Regions from separate parts of the Homo sapiens genome. Here regions 1, 2, 3, 4 and 5 are each linked to region 6. Evidence: promoter capture Hi-C in 16 types of primary human blood cells and fetal thymus (Javierre and others, 2016). All regions are on one chromosome and are shown on one strand. Each heading gives the region's core, a stretch centred on a gene start or on the middle of the fragment in contact. The rest is flanking DNA. Distances are from core to core; before and after follow the strand shown. Region 1 has its middle 40 kb from the start of LINC02687. Region 2 has its middle 58 kb from the start of LINC02687. Region 3 has its middle 25 kb from the start of LINC02696. Region 4 has its middle 24 kb from the start of LINC02687. Region 5 has its middle 5.4 kb from the start of LINC02696. Region 6 holds the start of LINC02716 (long intergenic non-protein coding RNA 2716).

Evidence for each region. The method cuts DNA at HindIII sites, captures the fragments that hold promoters and counts their contacts. A CHiCAGO score of 5 or more calls a contact.
Region 1: a contact is called between a fragment that was not itself captured here and the fragment with the promoter of LINC02716 in region 6, in 3 of 17 cell types (endothelial precursors, M1 macrophages and M2 macrophages). The highest score is 9.8, in endothelial precursors.
Region 2: a contact is called between a fragment that was not itself captured here and the fragment with the promoter of LINC02716 in region 6, in 1 of 17 cell types (endothelial precursors). The highest score is 6.2, in endothelial precursors.
Region 3: a contact is called between a fragment that was not itself captured here and the fragment with the promoter of LINC02716 in region 6, in 2 of 17 cell types (endothelial precursors and fetal thymus). The highest score is 6.2, in endothelial precursors.
Region 4: a contact is called between a fragment that was not itself captured here and the fragment with the promoter of LINC02716 in region 6, in 6 of 17 cell types (endothelial precursors, M1 macrophages, M0 macrophages and 3 more). The highest score is 9.3, in endothelial precursors.
Region 5: a fragment that was not itself captured here is called in contact with the fragment with the promoter of LINC02716 in region 6 in 7 of 17 cell types (endothelial precursors, M1 macrophages, M2 macrophages and 4 more); the score reaches 14.6 in endothelial precursors.

What each region holds. Positions count from the first base shown.
Region 1 is chr11:45,409,326-45,413,185 of GRCh38, reverse strand. No RefSeq gene overlaps it. Among named protein-coding and RNA genes, the nearest start is that of LINC02687, 40 kb to the right of the region's middle. RefSeq lists enhancers at 738-1,399, 1,400-2,060. The HindIII fragment of the contact is 1,735 bases long and covers 938-2,672 here.
Region 2 is chr11:45,427,689-45,431,709 of GRCh38, reverse strand. No RefSeq gene overlaps it. Among named protein-coding and RNA genes, the nearest start is that of LINC02687, 58 kb to the right of the region's middle. The HindIII fragment of the contact is 4,489 bases long and covers 377-4,021 here.
Region 3 is chr11:45,328,008-45,331,807 of GRCh38, reverse strand. No RefSeq gene overlaps it. Among named protein-coding and RNA genes, the nearest start is that of LINC02696, 25 kb to the left of the region's middle. The HindIII fragment of the contact is 2,132 bases long and covers 415-2,546 here.
Region 4 is chr11:45,393,362-45,397,227 of GRCh38, reverse strand. No RefSeq gene overlaps it. Among named protein-coding and RNA genes, the nearest start is that of LINC02687, 24 kb to the right of the region's middle. The HindIII fragment of the contact is 2,080 bases long and covers 945-3,024 here.
Region 5 is chr11:45,348,224-45,351,818 of GRCh38, reverse strand. No RefSeq gene overlaps it. Among named protein-coding and RNA genes, the nearest start is that of LINC02696, 5.4 kb to the left of the region's middle. The HindIII fragment of the contact is 5,570 bases long and covers 1-3,595 here.
Region 6 is chr11:45,769,791-45,773,406 of GRCh38, reverse strand. LINC02716 (long intergenic non-protein coding RNA 2716) reads right to left here and starts at 1,975. Exons shown (of 2, transcript NR_027134.1): 1 at 1,693-1,975; 2 at 1,049-1,414. RefSeq lists an enhancer at 1,782-2,283. The HindIII fragment of the contact is 20,811 bases long and covers 1-3,616 here.

The DNA of each region.
Region 1 (3,860 bases), core at 556-3,055, 360 kb after region 6:
GTTTAGCTGTAAGTGGGCAGAGTGAGGGTTTGAACCCAGGTCTGTGTGACTCCAAGGCAGGTTGACATTTGCACCTGGCACATGGTGGGCCTTTGTCCATATGGGCTATTTTCTTTCTTTTCTCAAATATACAAATAATGATAATCCCAAGCAGGACAAGTGAAGTGTTTTTTGTTTTTTGTTTTTATTTTTAATCTGGGCTACAGACCAGACCAGTGGTAGGCAGGGATGTCAGTGAGGTGGTGCAGTGCAGCCCACCTGGAAGGTGTTGGGAGGGCTGGGTGAAGGAGTGGAGGGGGCATTTGAACTGGGAATTTAAAAGCCACTGAAGGTCTCTGAGAAGGAAAGTGATCAGACCAGAGCAGGAAAGAATCAGCAGGGGAGGGGAGGTAAACAGGAGGTGGTAAGCCCAGTCGGGAGGTTACTGCAATAGTCCAGGCAGGGAGGAGGGGCAGGCAGGTGACAAGCTGCACACAGGGCCATACAGGCATCCAGGGCAGCCCCTGCACCCAGCTACCTTTCTGCTGGAAGGCCGTTTTCACAAGGCAGCCGGAAGCACTCCCGGGTAATCTCGTCTGGAGATGACTGCATTTCATTATAATTTAAGCCTTTCTTGGGCTTCATCAAAGGCTATGAGTGTCTTGAAAAAGAGAAGCATCTCTTTCCTCAGGTAAGGGGAAAACACGCCAGAGCTTTCTCTTCTAATATAAACTAGACAAGGAGATGCAGCTGAGCTTGGCAGAGCCTGCCGGAGAACGCTAATAGACTCGACGAGGGAAGAATTATAGAAAGAGACAGCTCCAGAGGGTGGTGGGGCAGGAAGAGAAAGAGGCCCCGAGACTGCCAGCCCCAGGTGGGCTAGTAAGGAGCTGGATCAGTGTCAGCAGATGTGGCCCGAGGGCCTGCATAGACTCAGCATCTCATCTGGCGAGAAGCTTCTCTGCCTGGAGACCAGAGAGATAAGACCCCTCGCCCCTAGCATCCTTCCGGCTGGTTTCCAGTGATCCCATTAATTATGGAGGCTCGGGGACTGGAGTGGAATCCTTAGCGTTTCCTGTATGGGAGCTCTCAGTGGGGGAGGATGGAAGTGACCTAGAAACATTTAGCCCGGGGAAAAAAATAACCCAAGCAGGTTTGACACTCCCACCTGAGGCTGGGAAGGGGTTGGGGGCTATCATGTGTATATGAGTGTTTTAAGATATTATCTCAGACAGTTTGATGTCCCATGAAACATTAAGAAGGTGTTTTGCTTTTTAAAAATCAGATTATTTTCCTTTTGCCTTTAATAAAAACCAGCACTGGTCTCTGACTCACAGGCTTAAAACAGCCTTCACTGGTTACCGAGGATGGGATTTCAGCAGTGGCACAGGCTGGAACGGTTCTCAAATAGGAAATCGAATACTGGGAAGACAAAGGAGGGGAGAGGGAAGAGGGGAGGGAGAGGCAGAGCAAGAAATAAATTTGGAGTTAATGCTGAGTGAGGGAGGGCTTCACTGCTGGCTCCCCGGGTGCTCCTGAAAGGCTGCTCAGCCCCAGGAGTGAGCAAAGCAGGAGTTCTTGGCTCCATCCTGGCAGCCCATTTGTCCCCTGCCAGCCAGCCCTCCGGACCACAGGGCTACTCTTCCCAGCTTGTGAGGGAAGCGTCCTCTGTATCAGAGGCCTTTGAATCTTAAGCAAATGCCCTGTCACACAGGAGAGAGGCTGTAACCTCCCCCAGGGAGGGCACGGTCACTCAGAGTTGATATGGTGGCTACAAGGCTGATGGTCACCAGTCATCAGGGCCTGGGAGGCAGGGTGGGAGGCAGGGTGGGAGGCAGGGCAGGAGGTCAGGTGAGAGGTGGGAGAATGGGGAAGGGGGAAGGTGAGGATTGTAAGAGAAGGTGGTCCCTGCTCTAGTCTCTCTCTCTTTCTCTCTGTGTTTGCCTTGCTTTGTCTTTCTCTTCTATCTTCCTCTCAGTCTCTGGATCATTTTATCTTATGGTCTCTCTCATTCTTTGTCTCCATCCCTCTTTCTCTGTCTGAATCTTTTCCTCATTTCAGAAAAATGGCTGAACTTGTTAAGCCAGAGATCAAACACCCCAGCGGGCTGAGTGCGGACAAGGGAACACGGCTTTAACATCTGCTGCTCTCTTTCTGTGCGACACAGAGGGCTCCCCACAGAGAGGAAGGGCAGGGAGGTGGAGGCGGGGTGTGGGTGAGAATTCCTGCAAACCTTGGCATTGTCCTGGTCGGGGGTCGGGTTGGGAGGGGTGATAAGGACAAGGGAAGGGAAATCGGACAAGAGACAGACCCACATGCTGACCAGGGTACTCACAGACAGACAGGGAAGGCCCCCACCTCGAGGGAGGAAGCAGATCCAGTGAGGGCCACCATGCCCCAGGGGAGTCAGGGGCTCTGAAGCTGCTGCCTGACAACCTCTGCACTTTGCACAGAGTGAAAGGAAATTTATAGGAGTGAAGGACGTGGACTAAAGCCCTCTGAACTAGCAGCATTAAGAATGTCATTTCAGCAAGTCCTCCTAACAGCCCTGCCAGGGTACTCTTCCTGCCCTAAAGATGCGTGAAGTCACCAGGCCAGGAATGTATGCAGTGCCCCTGGCCAGGGAGGTGCAGGGCTGACTCCTTGGCCTGCACTTTTTCCAGCCATACTTATTCCTGCAGAAGATGGAAGCTTGTCTTGCAGCAGGTTCAGAATAAAGGCAATTGGGTGAGGGCGCAGCCTTGGTCTGAACCTAAAGGGAGAAGATGGAGGGACAGAGGGTGTCCAAGCCTGCTGAGAGGACCTGCCCTCCAGGGTTGCCTTTCAGAGGCAGGTTGGGAATGTAGCTCCCTGGGCCCAGGCTCATTCTGAGAGACAGGTCATTCTGTTGCTCTGAGGAAAGGGAAGGGAAGGAGGAAATGAGAGAGGGAGAGAAAGACAGGGAGAGAGAGAGAAGCACAGTCTTCCCACTTCTTTCTGCCCTCTTCCTGGAATGCGGACCTGCCAGTCGCCAGAAAGAAAAGAGAATATTTGATCAATCTATTGAGCTTACTGTGTGCCTGTGCCAGGCATGGTCACAGACAAGCTCTTTTCTCACCATCACAACAATCCCATCCCTATTTTACGGAGCAGTAAACTGAGGCAAGAAGAGCTTAAGCAATTTGCTCAAGCTCCCAGAGCTGGTAAGCAGCAGAGCCATGGTCCTCATGCACAGCCCCCACTTGCATATTTTCCTGGGCCCCAGTTCATCTCTCTCTCTCTCTTCTCCAAACATAAAGCCTGGAGCAATGAGCAATGCAGGCAGGCCCTGCTAGGGCAGTGCCACAGGGAGAGGAGAAGATAGAGGACAGAGCTGGCCCACACACAGTATCACAGCAGCCTGCAGAGGTGTCATTTTTAACAGCAGCAGCCTGTCTATGCCTCTCCTCTGCCAGCTCTCGATGACATCAGGCCCCTTCTCCAGGGAGCATGACTCAGGTCGAGTGCGATTGTGGTCAGTGGGGCACACGGATAGGTGAGGTAGGGCTGGAGGAGGGGACCAGGGAGTCTGCTGTAGCGTCCGACAAAGGGGCCTCTTTATTCCCTGAGCTGGGATGTGCTTGGGGCTCCCAACCTTATGGGGCTGGAGATGAAAGGCAGGGGCTTCCGCTATGTCACCTGGACAGGCCCTGAGCAGGAGAGGCAGCCATTCCTGTGAGAGGGGAGTGGGGTGCTGGGAGGAGGGGCTGGGTACCAGACAGGTTGCCAGGCACGCTTTACATGAGCATGTGAACCGAGGCCCCACACCTGATACCGACATACACATGTAACACACAGCAGCACCTACCATATGGCTGATGTGCGTACCTCGTGCCTGCCTCCGACATGAGCAACCTGCACCC
Region 2 (4,021 bases), core at 1,372-3,871, 340 kb after region 6:
GCCACAGTAAACTGGGGTTATCCTCTGATAGCAGCAAAGGATGTGACGGTAGTGGTGTTACCACCCTTAGCTAATGCTAATTGACACAGTCTGCTGCAGCCGAGTTAGGATTGGATTCTGGTTCCAACTCAGCCACATGTCTGGGACAAGACCCTGTTCTTCTCTGGACTTTGGTTTCCTGATCTGCAAAACAAGGGGACCGAACAGGGTCAGCGTGCATGGGCTTCGCATTCCTTCTTCACATCAATGTGTGTGTGGAGTCAATCTGAAAAACAAAAGTAGGGCTGCCCAGTTTATAGATAGGGCGAGGACCCCTCACCCCTCACTCCTCACCCTAAGGAGCTCTGAGGCACCACAGGAAAACAGTTGGAAAGCTTGGTTGAGCCAGAGTTTAGCACCAGATTAGACCCGTAGATTTGTCTCCTTTGGTGTGAAGAGTTAAAAGGTGTGTAAGCAGGGAGGGGTGGGGGACTTGTGGATTTCAGTGTCTTTAGACAGGGTCTGGCCCCTGCAGGGAACTGAGTTTGATTCATGTTCAAGCTCTTTCCCTGGCCCCTGATCAACTCTTAGATGTATAATTCTTTTTTCTTTTTTTTAACTTTTATCTTAAGTTAAGGGGGTACGTGTGCAGGATTGTTATATGGTTAAACTTGTGTCTCAGGGGTTTGTTATACAGATTATTTCATCACCCAGGCATTAGGCCTAGCACCCATTAGTTATTTTCCCCGATTGCCTCCCTCCTCCCACCGCCCCCCGCCCAGCCCTCCAGTAGGCGCCAGTATCTGTTGTTCCCCTCTATGTGTCTATATGTCCTCATCATTTAGCTCCCACTTATAAGTGAGAACATGCAGTGTTCGGTTTTCTGTTCCTGCATTAGTTTTCTAAGAATAATGGCCTCCAGCTCCATCCTGAGTGTATAATTCTATAAGGTCAGGCAGGATCTACCCCACTTCCCCCACCCCCTCCCACATCATCCCTCCCCTCCCCTCCCTCTCCTTCTGCTCTGAACTATTCTGTCTTTCCTCTAATTGTTGAATCTTTTATAATTACGAGCCTTTAAAATTTCCTGGTATCATTACATTGGTGCATGTGAGGCACACAGGGCCTCTTTCTGCCAAGGGGCTCACTTGGGAGCTGGCTGAGCTATGATCAGAGCTGGTGGGAAGCCCCTCCTACAGATGCATCCAGGAGTCCCCCATGAGAATGGCCACTTGTACTTGATGTTGTTAAACTCTGCCAGGGGAGACTAGAACTGTGGGATAGAAAATGTGGGAAGTGAGGGGTATGGGTGAGGTGGTCAGCCCAGCCCATAATCAGGCTAGGAAAAACCTATTGAGCAGATCTTCTTCCCTAAATGACTTTCCTCATGTAAAATTGTCTTCTATGATTGTCAGAAAATGCATTTTTAAAAGAGGTTAACATGGGATTTAATGAATATAGAGTAATAATGGTCCTTGTATCAAATTAAAATTCTAAGGCTGCCAGATGAAACAAGTACATTATGAGTATCCAACATTATGTATTATTATTATTGGACTGCTTGATTGCCCTACATACTTAGGAATAAAAGAAACAGCTCCAAGTCCTGCATTTAAATTGGCACACATCTCCCTTGGAATAAGAGTCTGGGAGGACAAAGAGCATGCCCACTGTGCAAAGGCAGATCCTGGGATCTTAGGAAATATCCTCATGATAAAGCAGAAGGACACAGAACAGATAGATGGCAGAGTTTTGTGAAAGCAGCACGAAGGAAGGGTATGTCTGAATCTGTATGCTGTGTGACTTTGGGCAAGGCACTTCACCTCTCTGAGCCTCCATGTCTCCACACTTAGTCTGGGTAAAGGACAGTGGTGAAGATAAGTTGAAATTACAGGCATGAGAGCACTTTGTAAACTCTGGCCGGGTGCAGTGGCTCACGCCTGTAATCCTAGCACTTTGGGAGGCTGAGACAGGCGGATCACTTGAGGTCAGGAGTTCAAGACCATCCTGGCCAACATGGCAAAAACCCATCTCTACTAAAAATACAAAAATTAGCCAGGTATGGCGGCGAGCATCTGTACGTGGGAGGCTGAGGCTGGAGAATAGCTTGAACCCAGGAGGCGGAGGTTGCACTCCAGAGATGGCACCACTGCAGCCTGGGTGACAGAGCGAGACTCTGTCTCAAAAAACAAGCAAACAAACAAACAAAAACAAAAACAAAAAGCACTTTGTAAACTCTAACAGGCTGTTGAGTTCTGAGGATTGAAGATAATTCTAAAAACCTCGCTTTGTTGATGTCTTCCCTCTTCCTACCCTTTCTTGACCACTGAAGCCTGGATGCCATCTATAACATTTAATAACAGCAACCTGCGTTTACTGAGCACTTACTAAGAGCCAGGTATCATTTCACCCAGTTCCACCATAGCTTTATGTGGTAAGTATTATTATTAACTCCATTTTATAGACTGGGAGATGGAGGCTCAAGATGACACCTAAGTTGCTCAAGGCTCAGGGAGTGGCAGGGATTTAAATTCAGGTCTTCCTGACAGAAAACCTCTTAGTTCTTATGCTATATTTGCTTCTACAATATGTCTGACAAGCTGCTTCCAAATTATGCTTGAACTCCTCCAGGGACAAGGGGCTCATTACCACCCCCTGTCCCTCTCCCCACAATAAGTGCTCTCCCCTGACACATAAAGCATGATTATGGTGATATTATTATCAGTAAAATGGAGTGATTGGAGTGGATACTCTCTTTAGGTCTATTTCAGAACGTCACTTTAAGAGCGTGAGCATTCACAGACAAATTCACACTGGCTACAGAAGAAAGGATTAAAAATCTCCGTACGAAAATGGAACACAGCAAGGAAGAGGTGTGTGTGAATGGAGGCAATTAATTCTCTTTTGCCAATCGCTGTTAAAAAATATATATATTTGCTGGAAAGGAGGCATTTATTCCCTGCAGACTCATGGTGTGATTTTGAAATATCTCCACAGAAGGAAAGATGACTGAGGAAATACAAATCTATTAAATGTGCAGGACAAAAGAAAAAGGGGCTTCCATAAAAGGATTTCTAAACCATATCAAAGGCTTCAGAGGTCAGGGAGGGTTGCCGGAACACTACCAATTAGAGCTAAATGGGAAACCAGCTTAAATCTCAAAATTAAAGATGAAGAGCCGCAATTAACCTGTCTCCTAACAGAAAACATAGCCCTTAATGCTCAATGTAATTTAATATTTTAAAATTACGACCACAAGCATCGAAGACTCCTGTTCAACAATATAAAGTGGACAATAAAAGTCTCAGTGGGGCTTTGGATATCGTGGGTGAGATGGCACAGGAATAATGCTGGTACCGATGGCTCTGAAGCCACAGAAACTGAACTGGCAGGGACACAGTTAGAACTCGCCTCAGGACGCAAGCACCAAGCCTCAGCTCTGTTTTCCAAAGACCCATTCTCTGGCCAGCAGGAATCATTTGATTTGTGTTCTGTGGGCTTTAATAGGATGGAACACGCTGATGTGAGTGGAAAGGAAACCCCCGGCAGTGCTTAGGGGGTCTGCAGCATATTCCAAGGGATTTCTTTAAAGCGGTGCTTCTTTTTGGGGAATTTTTATGCCTGGTGGGGCAAGGTGGCTTATGTCTATAATCCCAGCACTTTGGAAGACCAAGGTGGGCTGATCACCTGAGTTCAGGAGTTCGAGACCAGCCTGAGCAACATGGCAAGACCCTGTCTCTACGAAATACAAACAAATTAGCCAGGCATGACAGTGTGTGCCTATGGTCCCAGCTACTCGGGAGGCTGAATTGGGAGAATTCCCTGAGCCCGGGAGATCGAACTGCAGTGAATCATGATTGTGCTACTGCACTCCGGCCTGGGTGACAGAGAGAGACACTGTCTTAAAAGAAAAAATAAATAAAATGCTTAGTGCCTGGGCCTTCATGCAGACTAGAAGGCCTGGGCATGAGTATTTGTTAAAGCTCCTATGTTAATTTTCATTGGTGCCCAGGGTTGGGAACTGCTGCTCTAAAAGATTAGG
Region 3 (3,800 bases), core at 231-2,730, 440 kb after region 6:
GAAAGTGGTCTAGCTGGGACTTGAACCTGCACCTGTCTGACTCCAGCACCCAAACTCATCCTCACTATTCCAATTAAAGGCAGAGCTAATACTAAACCCCTGAGATCCCGTCTCGTGGCCAGGACTCTCTCCATAACCCTGTCCTTCTCTTGCCTTTGAGGAAAGCATACTTCACTGTCAGTTCTTCAGCCTGGGTGGCAGGGATGAAGGCAGAAGTTAAATAATAAAGAGGAAAAGGTTTTTTTCTAGAAATCAATGACTAAAGACTGGGAAGAGAATTCCTAAAACTCAAGTCAAGGACTGTCTCCTTTCGAAAACGGTGTGTACGAGAACATACGGCTCTCTGACCATCCACACAGACTCATGAGAAGGAGAGGAAGGACACCTCTCACTTCTGAACACTGCCTTGAAGCTTAGAGAAGTCAGATGTGACTCCCGAAGCTGAGCCGACATTCCAGGGCTCCTGGGAAATGTATCAAGTTGTGTGCAGTAGCATGGCTGCCCCACTATCTTCTGACTTTTGATGCATGGCCTGCCATTAGGGCACAGGCCTGTAGTGTTATCACTGGGGGCTGGGCTTTGGGGTACATGGAGAGCTTCAGGAAGAGGGAGGATGAAGAGTAAATCTGGGTTTCCTTCCTTAGCCTTGGTTCCCAGCCTCCCTCCTGCCTCTAGACCCTGGCATCCCCATGCTGGGTGTCAGTTTATCTCTTCTGTCCTGTTTCCTTCACCTGTCCAAACCCTTCTAGTCATCAAGGCATACCACCCCCAACCCCAGTCTCAAAGCTGCCACCAACATTCTCTCCAGGCCTCACAGTGTCTCTCTGCCCTCCACCCATTTGCTCATATAGTCTGGAGATAACAGAGGTCAGCATTTGTTCAGCAGAGGGAAAACACAGGCTTTGGCATTAGAAAACCCAGGCTTGAGTCCCTGGCCTCATGTTGGCAGGCTGCATGATCTTGGATGAATGACCACACCTCCCTGAGCTACCTCAGCCAGGCTCAGGGCTAGCTCAGGGTAGCAATGGTGAACAGTCCCTCCCTCAAAGAGCTACTGTTTTAATCTTCCCATCTGGAAGATGGACGTTGTAACAACCACTTCTCTGGCTGGTTGTGAGCATGAAGAAAAGAGGCATACAAGGAACTACTTTTGAATTTCAATGTTCCATCCCAGTTTTATTTTCCCCAACAGTTACTTCACGGTTGCCTTGTTTTTCTCATCTGCAAAATGGGGACAAATGCCTACTTATTTTAGGCACATTCCAGCAGTCTAGCAGAGCAGGAGGCATCACAGACTGTGGCTGGGAGGATGGTCTCTGGGGTCATTCTAACTGGTTTTTCATCTTGGTGCTGCTTTTTCCTGCCTTTGGGACCCTGGACAAGTTATCCAAGCCCTGTGCCTCAGTTTCCTAATCTATAAAATGGAAGATGACTGTGTCTATTTTCCAGAGTTGATGGGAGACTCCTCTATTTCCTTTGGGTGGTGTAACAAATTACTATAAACTGGGTGGCTTATAACAACAGAAAATTACACACTCACAGTTCTAGAGGCTAGAAGTCTGAAATCAGGGTGTCGGCAGGGCTGCACTCCCTCCAAACGCTATAGAGAAAATCTAGGCTGGGTATGGTGGCTCACACCTGTGATCCCAGCACATTGGGAGGCCAAGGCAGGTGGATCACCTGAGGTCAGGGGTTCGAGACCAGCCTGACCAATATGGGGAAACCCCATCCCTACTAAAAATACAAAAATTAACTGGGCGTGGTGATGTGCATCTGTAGTCCCAGCTACTTGGGATGCTGAGACAGCAGAATTGCTTGAACCCGGGAGGCGGAGGTTGCAGTGAGCTGAGATCGTGCCGCTGCATTCCAGCGTGGGCGACACGCTGTCTCGAAAAAGCAGCGAGACTCTGTCTTGAAAAAGCAGCGAGACTCTGTCTCGAAAAAAAAAAAAGAAAAAGAAAAAAGAAAATCTATTCTTGCCTTTTTGTGTTCCTTGGGTTGTGGCTGCAGAACTCCAATCTTTGTCCCTCTGTCTCTTCTTCATGGATCCCTTATAAAGGCACTTGTCATTGGATAGAGAGCCCACCTAGATAACACAGTATGACTCCAACCCAGGATTCTTAATTATATCACCAAAGATCAATTTTCCAAATATGATCATATTCACAGGTTCTGGGCATTAGGACACAGATGTATCTTTTGGGGGCCACCATTCTACCCACTCTAGAAGCCAAATAATGAATCCATGTAATGGGGTCAGCACAGAGCCAGGCACACTGGAAGTGCTCCATTGATAAGAGCTACTACTGTTGCACATCTAGAAATTGTGCCTGAAGTTTAACTCTAGAAATTGGACCCACACAAGAACAGAAACCCAAGTGTAGAAAGATTGGGTCCTTCTGTCCCTGTAGGCCTCTAGGGCTGTTGGCCCAACTTGTAGCACTGCATTTCCCAACTTAACCAGACTGATTTCAGCTTTGAGATTCCTCAAATTCTCTCTCTGTTCTGAACAGGCTTTTGTTGAAGCCCCTTATTATTGCAAAGCTTGCGTTTTGCTCCATTAAAAGCAGTCTGAAGGTGACAGCCAGTCAGAGGTTGAGAACAGGGTACCTGGCAGGAGGGAGAGAAATGTCCAGCCAAGGCAGTCCTGATGGCTCAGCCTCATGTTGGATCTCAGGCTGAAGTCAGTTTGGTTGCATCAGGGAATGCCAAGCATCAGGTTTAAGGGTCAAGGCAGGTTTTCACTGAAAAGAAAGGAGACTGCTTTCATCCTGAGTGAGAGTCAGTTCTGTGGCCGAGCTGGATGGGGTGTGTACAGGTGTTGGGGTGACATCTGGTTGGAGAAAGGATAGGAAAAAGAATGGCCTGGGTCGAGGAGAAGGGCAAGGAGGCTGCAAAGGTGGAGAGAGACCGAGGGAGCCCAGACTTTTCTTCAGACTTTACAGCAGCTTTGTGGAAGAGAAGGACCACAGGACTGCTCAGAGCCTCAGTTTTCTCAGCTGTGAAATGGGATCACAGTGGGACCTGTGCCTTCAGGACTTAGCACATTGCAAGTACACAGGCAGTGCTAAGTGATGCCTATTGATACTCCCACCAGCATCAAAAGGAACAAAAGGGCAGCCAAGGCCCTTTAGGGGTGACTGGTTCAGATCTAGGCAGCAGAAGGACCTGATCTCCAAGCTTGACCTGCCTGTGTCTGGGCTGGAAATGAAGCCAGAGGGGCAAACTTACAGTGTGCGGAAAGCAGAGAGGGGAGGTCTTTGTGCTGATGGAGAGTTGGTTCTTAAACCCCACAAAGCGTGTTCTGTTCCACAGTTTACGGGCTGGCAGTATAATTAGAAAGGTAATATTTTATAACTGTTTTGTGACCCTATTTTTACCCCCAGAGAATCCCAGAAATAACTAGTGGTCAGGTCCTTGCCAGAAGCAACATCAATATGGTGTCATTGTCCCTGGACTGATGGAGCTGGGTGGTCACCCTGGGATGGAGCACTTTTCCCCAGTATTCCCCAGCTCTGCACAAAACTGACCCAACAGAGAGGAAAGTCCACACCACCTTCCCCAGGCTGGAGGCCATTACCACACCAGCTTCTGAGACTCTCCTCCCCTTGAGGCCAATCTTGGCTGGTCTGAGCTTTATTTTTCAACAAAGCTGTTTGCTCACCAAGATGAAGAAAGAATCCTTGAGTTAAGAAGCAAGTATAATTTTAACAGCTCTTCCTCTTGTTCCATGAGTTCAGAATGACTTTGGTAGCTCCCTTTTCTGGAAAACTTCCCGCTTGATCCAGTGTAATTATCTT
Region 4 (3,866 bases), core at 735-3,234, 380 kb after region 6:
TATCTCCGGGGAGAGGAGGGAGGTATAATCCTGAAGGACCTATGGGAGGAGGTTTCCGAGACATTGACAGGTTCCTATTTCTTCTCCATCTGTATGGTTGGTACACAAGTGACCACACCTATGTGATGAAGCCTCCATAAAAATCCCTGAACGACAGGGTTTGGAGAGTTTCTGGATTGCTGAACACACGGAGGTCCCTGGAGGGCAGTGTGCCCAGAGAGGGCATGGAAGCTCCACGCCTCTTCTCCCTTACCTCACTGTAGGCATCTCTTCCATCTGGCTGTTTCATTATTCTCTACATTAGACACATACACTTTATATGTGCTTCTTCATATTTCATAACAAAGCAAATGAAAGAAAAAAATCAATGAATCTTCCTTTTACCATTAAAATTATCTGATGAAATCCATGGACCCTATTCCCAAACAATTAGAAAAAGATCCAGACATTTCATTTGAATGCAGAGGGCTCATAGACCCCTTGAAGATCCTCTATGGGAAGATTCCACATCTGGTGTTACAGTTGATTTACACCCCCGTAAATCCCTGAGGCAGTGGCCATCTTTATCCAGAGCAGCAATGTGGCCCAGGAAACAAACAATCTGGGCTGGGATGGTCCAGTGACGTCAGAACCAAGCCCGCACCCCTAAAGAGGAACTCTGCACGTAGGCAGATCCCCCACAGCCAACCCTAGCCCCCTTTCCTCCCTACTTGGAGCATTTCCAGCTCCCAAGATCCCAGGATCCTCCCTCTGCCTCCTCCAGGGCCACAGCTTTGGCCATCACATCTAGCTGCTGGGCCCTCTGCAACATAAAAAAGCATAATCCTTTGGGGAAGAGGAGTGTAAGGAAACACCAGAAGGTAGCTAATTACTTGTGTTACAAATAGTAATCTTGCTTTTTAAACCTTAGGAAGATAATGATCTGTTTTTAGTGTATTAAAGCTTAATTGTTTAAGTGAGGGAATAAAAATCAGCTTCAAAACAGGGGGAGCCTAGAAGCAGAAGAAACGTCCTTGGAAGCAGTGTTGTGAGCTAGAACGAGAGGACTCGCCATGTGGCTTCGGGGAAAACACTTCCTCCCTCTGGGCTTCAGTTGCCCATCTGTTCAATGGAGGAGTTGCACTTCTAGAAGATGCCTAAGTCATCTGCACTCCTGATGTCGCAGGGTTCTCTGGTCACCAGCTTCATTTCTCTCTGCTCTGGAACTGTGCCAGACAAGCATGGAGGCTTCCTTATAACCCAGTGCCTGACACATGGTAGGTGCCCAACTAATAGTGTTGTTGACTTGTACTGCGCTTACTCTTGTTCCCTAGTCCTCACACAGCCTATCACAGACACGAGCCTTTAGCTGGTCCTCAATACTGCTTTCCTCACCTCTAAAATGGGTAGAACCATGTAGGGCCAATGTGAGAATTAGATAAAGTATGTGCAAGCCCCTTGCCCAGTGCCTAGCACACACTAGGTACAATTTAAATGGTTCCCATCTTTTTTGTCCTTGTTCATCATTCACCTGAAAAAGTTTGTCTGTTCTGGCTAATCCCGGCCTGCTCCCTACAAACAGAGACACACGCACGCACACACACACACACGCAGACACATACTCTTTCTCATGGAGCAGCTGCTTCCTCCCCAGGACTGACCATCATCCCACTGATGTCCAGACAGTGCTGGGCAGCCAGGCACTGACTAGGCCAGTTACTGCGGATGGTCAAGAACTGCTGGTGGAAATGGAAGGCTAAGGCTCTACACCTCTCTGGATTCCCCAAGAGCCTCCGTGTGTTAGACACAGCCACCAGGGTGACTGGGGCCCCCAACACCTGCACAACACCACATCTCCCTCAGGCCAAGGTCCACAAATGTGAAGTCAAAAAGTGAGGGCGATTCTGACTGAGGAGTGTCTCTTGGACGGTGTTGGCTGTTAAGTAAGGTCAGAGGTGGGGGATAGGGAGAGAAGGCCAGAGAGAGAAGAGAGGAGGAAGGAAGAGGAAGAGGAGAAAGGTGGAAGGGAGGTACAGAGTGGAGGAGGAAAGACAGAGACGGAGGGAAGAAAAGAAGCAGGAGAGAGAGATGGGGCATAGAAAGTGGAAAAGGGAACTTCAGGTCCTGGGGTGAGGGCTTTGGACACATTTGAATTTTAAATCAGCAGCTTCCCTTGGCCTGTCCCCCTGATTTGGCCTGGTTCTAGGAGGCTGATCAAGAAAGTGAATCTCCTATGACCTCCATATGAGACTGATTGTTGGCTGGGGCTGCCCACTGCTTTTCTCACACTCAAGGAGAGACCCACACTCAGTCTCCTGGGGTATAGACCACTGAAGCCCAGGGACCAGGGCTCCCCATCTGAATGGTCAGAGGGAGGCTGCTGCAGCCCCAGCCCCAGCCCCTGCCAGGTGGCCCTCCCCATATAGGCTTCCGGGTGGTCACTGGGATGACTGTCACCAGCCCTGGGCACCGAATTGTCCCTTGAGATTTTTCTACACCCACCCAGATCTTTGGAAATAGTCCTTTTAAAAACTCCCTTCCAATTACCCAATTTGAATGAGCTTGTTTCCTGCCAGGACCAATCTGAAACAAACACAGAGTTTATAATCCTCATGTTAGCCCTGCTTCCAGGTCATCCCATTTCCAGATAAGGAAACTAAAGCCCAGAAGGTCAGAGATGGGGAGTGACTTGTCCGAAGTTGCGCAGCTAGGGGTTGGGGAGCGGGGACTGGAACCTGCCCAGCTGGGTGTTTACATTGCTCAGGCTTTAGAGAGACCGGGTGGTTCAGCAAAGGTGGACCAGGCCGGAGGTCAGGAAGGACTAAAGTTAACACTGCCCCTGCCTGTCTGGGTTCTCCTTATGCTGGAACCTCAGAGGCAGCCAGGAAACCCGCCTTCCTCACTCCCCACATCCACTACCCTCTACCCTCTGTGCCCACAACCAGTGCCTGAGGTCAGACACTCTCATTCCCTTCCTCGTGGGCATGGCCAAAGCCTCCTGGCCGGCCTCCTGCCTCCATCAGCCTCACTACAGTGGGAAAAGCTTTTCTAGAGGGATCTTTCTGGCTCACTCTGACGCTCCTCCTTCCTAGGATCTGTCTCTGCATCCCTAGTGCCTGTGGGACAAAGTCCAAAATCCTTTGGTATCAGAACCCTTCCCAGCTGGCCTTCTACACCTTGCAGTTCGGCTGTGCCCTGCCCTTCTGCACCTCCATGCCTTTCGGCAGACCTTCTCCACCCCCGGCAGCGCCCTTCGGAGTCCTCTGTTCCCCATCAATGTCCACGTGTCCCTCAAGATCCAGCCAAAGCGTGGTGCAGGGGAGGGTCTCCTTAGTTCTGCCTCCACCCCGTCTCCCCTGCCCCCGACACACACAAAGACCACCCCTCCCACTGTTGTCCCCTCGCAGAATCTGTGTTCTTGCTTCTGGTGCAGTATTTTTTTTCCTCTGCTGTCTCAACTCCCTCAGAGAATGAACCATGGCTATACATCCAGAATAATCCATGGCTCTCCGGGCCTGGCATCATAATTGCATTGTGTCTTTCTCTCTTGCCATGGCACAAGCTTCTGAAGGACAGGAATGTATCTTCATCCTCCAGACCTCCAGGCCTGAGGGCAGGGCCTAGTCCCCAACAGCGCTAAATACATTTTCCCTAGCTGAGCCACTGAGGACGGGTGATCCTTGACTGCATGAGTGAGGAGTCTTTGGGCCTGTGGCTGCTGTGCAGCCTTGGGCAAGCACCTGAGTCTCTCTGTGCCCATTTCCGTTTCCTTACGTCTGGGGAGTAAGATCTGCTGCTTGCTCATAAACATTTAGCTATCCTTTTCCTCCCTTTCCTCAGAGCCCAGGCCCTCTCGGAAGGGCTCAGACACTTGTATTTTATGTGTA
Region 5 (3,595 bases), core at 1-2,500, 420 kb after region 6:
AAACCTTGCTGATCATCTTGTCTCTTACTGCAAACTTGTTTTCCATTTTGAAGAGCAGTGGGATGTTAACGCTCTTTCATAGGGAAATGTCTTTTGTGAAAGTGGAACAAGAGGCCAGCTTTAGAAATGCATCAGGGCTTCTGCTTCCAGGAAAATGGAGTAAATGTACTTTCTCTTCTTCCTCCCACAAAGTGCAACTAAAACCCCTGGGCATTATACAAAAAACAAACATAAGAAGACTTAGAAAGGTGGAATGACTAGGAACCTTGTGATCTAAGGAGCACCATGCTGGCAAATTTTCTGGGTTTTCCTTTGCCTCATATATTCCAAACCTAGAGCTGAGGAAGCCAGTGACCCAGTAATGCTAACGGCATCAGACAAAAAAAAAAAAAAAGTCCCAAGAAAAGCCACCTTTCTTAAGATAAAGGACTAAGAATGGGGCAACTTAGCAAGACAGAAGGCTTTTGGACAATAACTGCTTGACTCCAGCCAAAGACCACCAACAAAACAAACAAAAAAGTACTTCCCCTGTATCTGCTGATATCTATCTAAATGTTTGTAGAGGAAATATTTAAGACAATTATAAGTGGGAGAAGGTAAAGGGATATAGAGGATGGTAAAAATTTCTCCACTGCATTCAAATTGGTAAAATGATGACCCCAGAGAATGCGATATTATGTATATATTAAATGAAATACCTAGAGCAACCACTAAAAAGAATATACAGAAAGACACTCAAAAACACTAGATAAATAAAAATGAGATTCAACAAAAAAGTTAAAATAACTCACAGGAAGGCAAGAAAGAGAAAACAGAAATGAGAATAGAAAATACAAAATGGTAGACTTAAACCTTAACATATCAATAATTACATTAAATGTCAATGGTCTAAATACACCAATTAAAACACACAGATTGGCAGAGTAGAGGAAAATGATGACCTAGCTACATGCCACCTGTAAGAAATTCTCACTTCAAATTTAACAATATAGGCAGATTGAAAGTGAAAGGATGGAAAAAATATATCATGCAAACAATCAAAGTGGGAGTAGCTATATTAGCATCAGATAAGGTAAATTTCAGGGCAAAGAAAATTACCAGAGATAGAGAACAATGTGACAAAATGATAAAAGGGTCAATCCATCAAGAAGAAATATCAACCCTAAATGTGTACACACCAAATAACAGCTGCAAAATATGTGAAGCAAAAAATAGATACGTTAAAAGGAGAACTGGACAAATCCACACCCCTCTCTCAATAATTAATGGGACAGCTAGACAGAAAATCAGCAAGGATATAGAAAAATTCAGCAACACTATCAATCAAAATGATCTTATCAGCATTCATAGAATGCTCCACCTGACAACAGAAGGTATGTTCTTTTTAAGTGCCCAGGGAACATACTCCAAAAATCGACCACATTCTGGGCTATGAAACAGACTTTAACGCATTTGAAAGAGTTAAAATCATACCAAGTGTGTTCTCTGACCACTGTGGAATCAAATTAGAGAACGGCAACAGAAAGATGACAGTAAACTCACCCAAACAGGTGGAAACTAAGCAACACGTTTCTAAATATTCCATGGGTCAAAGTGGAAGTCTCAAGGGAAACAAAAGAATATGCTGTACTGGATGAAAATGAAAATAAGCATATCAAAATTTGTAGAAGAGAGCTAAGCAGTGCTGAGGGAAATTTATAGCACTAAATGCATAGCATACATTAGAAGAAAGGAAAACTCTCATCAACAATCTTAGCTCCCAACTACAGTACCTAGAAAAAGAAAAGCAAATTAAACCCATAACAAGCTGAAAGAAAGAAATAATAAAGAGCAAAGTCAAGAAATAGAAAGCAATAAAACTATTAAAGCAACTAAAAAAAAAGAGCTGGTTTTTTGAAAATATTTTCTAAAGGATAAAACTCTAGCAAGACAGACAAAAAAGAAGAATATTAGGTAACATTCTAATATCACCAATATTAGGAATGAAACAGAGGATATTACTACAGGTTCTCCAGAATAAGCAAGATAATAAAGGAATACAGTTGACCCTCTTCAGGAGGATGAAGGCACACACTCTCAAGTCAGGCTGCCAGATGAGCCATTACAACATGGCATGTTGTAATGAGGTAACATTTGGGAATGATGGATATGTTCATTATCTGGATTATGGTAATGGTTTCATGAGAGTATACATATGCCAAAACTTATTAAATTGTATGTTTTTAAGTGTTCAGCTTATTGTAGGTCACTTAAATAAAGGTTAAAAGAAAGCATTATCAAATCTTAATCTTTGCCATATGTATTTATTTCAGATTCTCCACTTACAAACACAGATCATTTTTTTATCCCAAACCTATTTTCCCCCATTTCCTATATATAAGCACTAGGAAATTGAATTTGGTGTTTTTGATCCCCACGCATAATTTTCTATATTAGTGCAGAAGTCTTTATAAACATTATATAACATAGTTTTGTATTACTTAATATTGTACATAAATGAAGTATCTATCATTCTGTAATTTGCTTTCTTTGTTTAACATATTTATGAATAAATTACATAACTTTAACAAAAACTTAAGGGAGGTATTATTACCATTTTACAGATGGAGAGAGAAACTGAGGTTCACCCTGATTAGGTGAACCATTTCTTGCCAAAGGTGATTATGAAGCCAGGATTGAGCCAGGTCTGACCTGGGTCAAAGCCAGAGCTTTAAACAGTGACCACAGGTACTTTGGGGGAGATTTTCCTCAAGGGCTCCCTTGTTTGTGCTTCCTGGGATTGTCATGAGCAGCACCCTTCCAGGCAATTTGCTCTTCTAGACTGTTCTAGACCACACTGGTTTGTCTGGCTACCTGGCATTCAGGTTGGGTCAGGCATTGCTTTGCCATATCCAGCTGTACTTTGCCGGGATCAAAGATAGTACCTTTGCCCTGCCTTGCTCCTTCTATTAATACTACTCCCTGGTCTAAATAAGGCCTGCCTTTTTTTGTCTAGATAGGGCTTCTTAACCTCTTTCATGTCAGGGATACCTCTGGCAGGGAAGCCTAGGGGCACCTTGGAATAAAACTTTTTAAATGCTGAAGACACATATGATTACAGCCTTATTGAAATACAAAATATATTTTAAAATGGTGATTGAATCATACATATGCTCCTTTTTTTTTTTTTTTGAGATGGAGTCTCCCTCTGTCACCCAAGCTGGAGTGCAGTGTTGCGATCTCAGCTCACTGCAACCTCTGCCTCCTGGGTTCAAGTGATTCTCCTGCTTCAGCCTCCAGAGTAGCTGTGATTACAGGTTCCTGCCACCATGCCTGGCTAATTTTTGTATTTTTAGTTGAGACAGGGTTTCACCATGTTGACTAGACTGGTCTCGAACTCCTGACCTCAAGTGATCTGCCTGCTTCAGCATCCCAAAATGCTGGGACTACAGGCGTGAGCCACCATACCTGGCCGATATATGCTTCTTTATTTATGCTTTTATGTTACAAGGTCTAATAGTGGATCTAATTGCCAATTTTGCTGCACAGATGAGCCTGAGCTTGATTTCAACATATCTGTAGCAACTGTAATACATGAAAATGTCGGTGATTTCTA
Region 6 (3,616 bases), core at 726-3,225:
TGAGGTGGGTGGCTGAGATTTCTGAAATCCGTATCTGAGATGACTAGGTGGAGTCATACATTTCCACCCTTCTGGGGTTAAGGACACAGCCTTAACCATTTAGGGTGACCATTTAGGGTGAAGTCACTGTTTATGGGAGTCTAAACTGTGACTTTGGCAAGGTGCAATATAAAAATGCTAATACATGTTTATGCACTAAGCTGGAAATAATGCCAAGCCCCTCAGTTAAAAAAAAACCTGTCAAGAATTGCAGTTTCCTTGAGTCGGAGGAACTAAGTGAGCTGTTAAATGAGGACTGTAAACCTGCCACATGGCGACGTTGCTTTGGTTATTAAATAGAAATACCTGCTTTCTATATGCATGCACTGTTGTTTACATGCCTCTGAATTTCTAATTTCTGCAGGAGATTCTGGTGACTGGTGTGCCATTTTCTCAATGTTCACAGTTATTATAACTTTAAATATTTTACCCATATCCTGTAACAATGTCATCCAAGTGTTCTTTAAGTGGTGGTGCTGAAAAACGCACCTGAAAATCGATAACATTGGAAAGGAAGTGAGATGTGATAAAACGTTATGAAGAAGGCCAAACCACCGGCAGGAAATGCTGCACTGTTAATTTAGCAGAGAGTGCGTTATGAAATATTAGCGATAATGCCAGGGAAATAAAAAGCAGCATTAAGGCAAAAATATGCCACAATTGGAGTAATGTATGCAACCTATCCTTTCTACTTTGCATTCATTTCTCTGGCAAAATTAGTCAGAAATTATGCACGCTTTGAATTATGCAAGTTTTTCAGGACCACATGCTTTGCATAAAACTCTACTGCCCTGAGGTTCTCAGTGGGTGGAAGAATGAGTGACCATATTCTAGGGTTATCTTAGGCCAGGCCGTTGTACCCTCCTGTCCTAGGTGGGGATGAAGTGACCTCATGTGTAAAATGGGACCGTTGGACTGGCTTGTCTTTCTTTCCTTATTAGACTATGTCGAGACAGGCACCATTATATTTCTGCCCCAAAGGTGTCTTTTTCTGGACGGATCCCACAGCTGATACCAAACTTGTCTTTATTAACTGTGAGGCTGGCCATTCAAACACCAGGTGCCAGAGAGGGTCCCTCACTCATCGGAATCCGGGTGGGATGAATCCTCGGAGGCAAGGTCCCTCCACCTTCACCCTAGAGTCACACAGAGACTTGCCCTGGCGGCTGGTGACAGGTGGGCGGGAGAAGAAAAGGCCCCTGGGGAGCAGGAGAAAGCCAGGTGCCATGGGGACCCAGCGCCGCTGGAGGGCAGCACCAGCACACAGCTGAGGCCGCCTCTCCCGGAGCCCGGAGGGAGCTGGGTTCCGGTCGCCAGCGGTGCCCGGGTGAGCAGTTCACCCTCACGTCCCTGCTCTGACGAAGTTTCCATTCTTCTGGAGAAGACAAAATAAACGTGAACAAATGAACAAGTGTGCATTGTCAGGCAGCAAGTGTTGGTACAAACAAGATAGTGGTGGGGGTGGGGACACCGTTAAATAGGGGCCAGGGAGGCCTAACCCGGGAGGGGATAGCTGAGATGCCACTTGAGTGGAGAAAACAGTCCGAGATCTGAAGGTGTTCATGGAGAGGGGAAGGGGCCCCTAGAGGAGTCGGGAAAGCCTGGGTCAGGGAAGACGAGAAAACTGAGGAACAGAGAAGCCAGGTAACTTACCCAGGGTCATAGAGCCGGTGAGCTGGGGACAGCGCCTGTCAACGCCCCAGAGCCTTCCACGGCACTGGTTTCTCCGACCTTCCTCTCTAAACAGGACCGTGACAGTGACAGTTTCTGCCCCACTCCCCATTTCTGACCGCAGTCCCCATAAGGAAACAGGGCAGGGATCACTGGCTGTGAGCCCAGCAAGTCCCCTCCCGTGGCTTTCTCAGTTATTAAATGGAAGGGTGGGTCCCCCCATAACTCCGAAGCTCCCCTCTCTAAGCGTCCGCGGGCCGGGAACGCCTGAATTCTGGCTCCCGAGCACCTTCTTGTGGACAGTTTTGGAATCACACGCTCAGCGAGAAAGGGTCGTGGGAAAATGGTCTGTGCTAATTTCGGAGAGGCCAGTGGATTGGAAGGTTATCACTGAGGGTGGGTGCACGTGTGTGTGTGTGTGCGCGCACGTGCATGCGTGCATGCATCTGTGTGCCTGTGTGTGTTGGTCTGTGTGTGAATGTACCTCTGTGCGTATCTGTGTGTATGGTTGTGTGTGAGCACATACTGCCCGAGCCTGTGTGTGTGTGAGTGTGTGTGTGCACTAATGTTTGTTTATATGGGCACAGGCACACACATGTCCATGTCCATGTGTGTGTACCTGCATCTGTATTTTTTCGTCTGGTGTATGGGCTTGTTTTTGTGTGCCTGCATGCATGTGCCCATGTGCGTGTGTGTTTTGGGAACTGGGACACAGAGGATGATATGAGAAGTCCCCAGTCTTTCTCACAAAGGCCTAACCACTCTCCCTGAAGCCAGCTTTCTCCCCTACTTGCTTCTGTCTGCACCATCACCTGAGTTCTCCCACCTGAACTTTTCACCGACATTTTTGATGATTTTTCTGTTTTGTGTCCGTTGAGGCTCATTTGAATGTTACAGATCATAGCTCAAGAAATGATTCTCAGGCCGGGCATGGTGGCTCATGCCTGTAATCCCAGCACTTTGGGAGGCTGAGGCAGGTGGATCGTCTGAGGTCAAGAGTTCAAGACCAGCCTGGCTAACATGGTGAAACCCCGTTTCTACTAATAATAACAAATTAGCCAGGTGTGGTGGCGTGTGCCTGTAATCCCAGCTACTCGGGGGGCTGAGGCAGGAGAATCACTGGAACCGGTGAGGCAGAGGTTGCAGTGAGCTGAGATCCCTGGGTGACACAGCGAGACTCCGTCTAAAAAAAAAGAAAGAAAGAAGTGATTCTCCTCTAGTCTACTCACCCAAATCATGAGTTTCACTTCTCAGGTGGGCTGATCACCCACTGTCCTGTTGAGACCTGGGGACTTGTACAAAGTCGTACCCTGGAGGGTTGAGCAGAAAACCAGGCACATAGTAACTAAGACAATGGCGCGTTAGCAAAGCACTCCACACATCCCGTTCACATGTGTGTCTTACTTGACTCACAAACTGATCTTTCATCCTTTTTTTTTTCCTTTTTTGTGGTGAACAGGGTCTTGCTATATTGCCCAGGCAGGTCTCAAACTACCGGCTGATCTTTCAAGCCTAGGCAAGGTGAGGCTAATTATTCCCATTTTACAGATGAAGACACTGAGGCTCAGAGAGGGAAATAATGAAAATAGTACTGCAGGAACCATCTAACCAATATGCAAACTCTCTCATCCAGTTTTCATAACATCATCAATTCCCTTCTTTAAAAGACAAGGAGATGGAGGCTTTAAAAATGTAAGGCGAGTGCTTAATGCCATATAGCCAATCAGTAGTTGAGGCAGGATTTGAATCTCGCTCCAGAGATTAAAGCCCAAGTCCTAAACACAATGGCAGGCGTGAGGGCCCTGGGCACACACTGACTCAAGCTCTTTCAGCCACACACTGTCCCTTTGCCATGCCTCTGGGGTCCTAAGAACATCCTCCTCTGAGCCCACAGGGAGGTCATTCC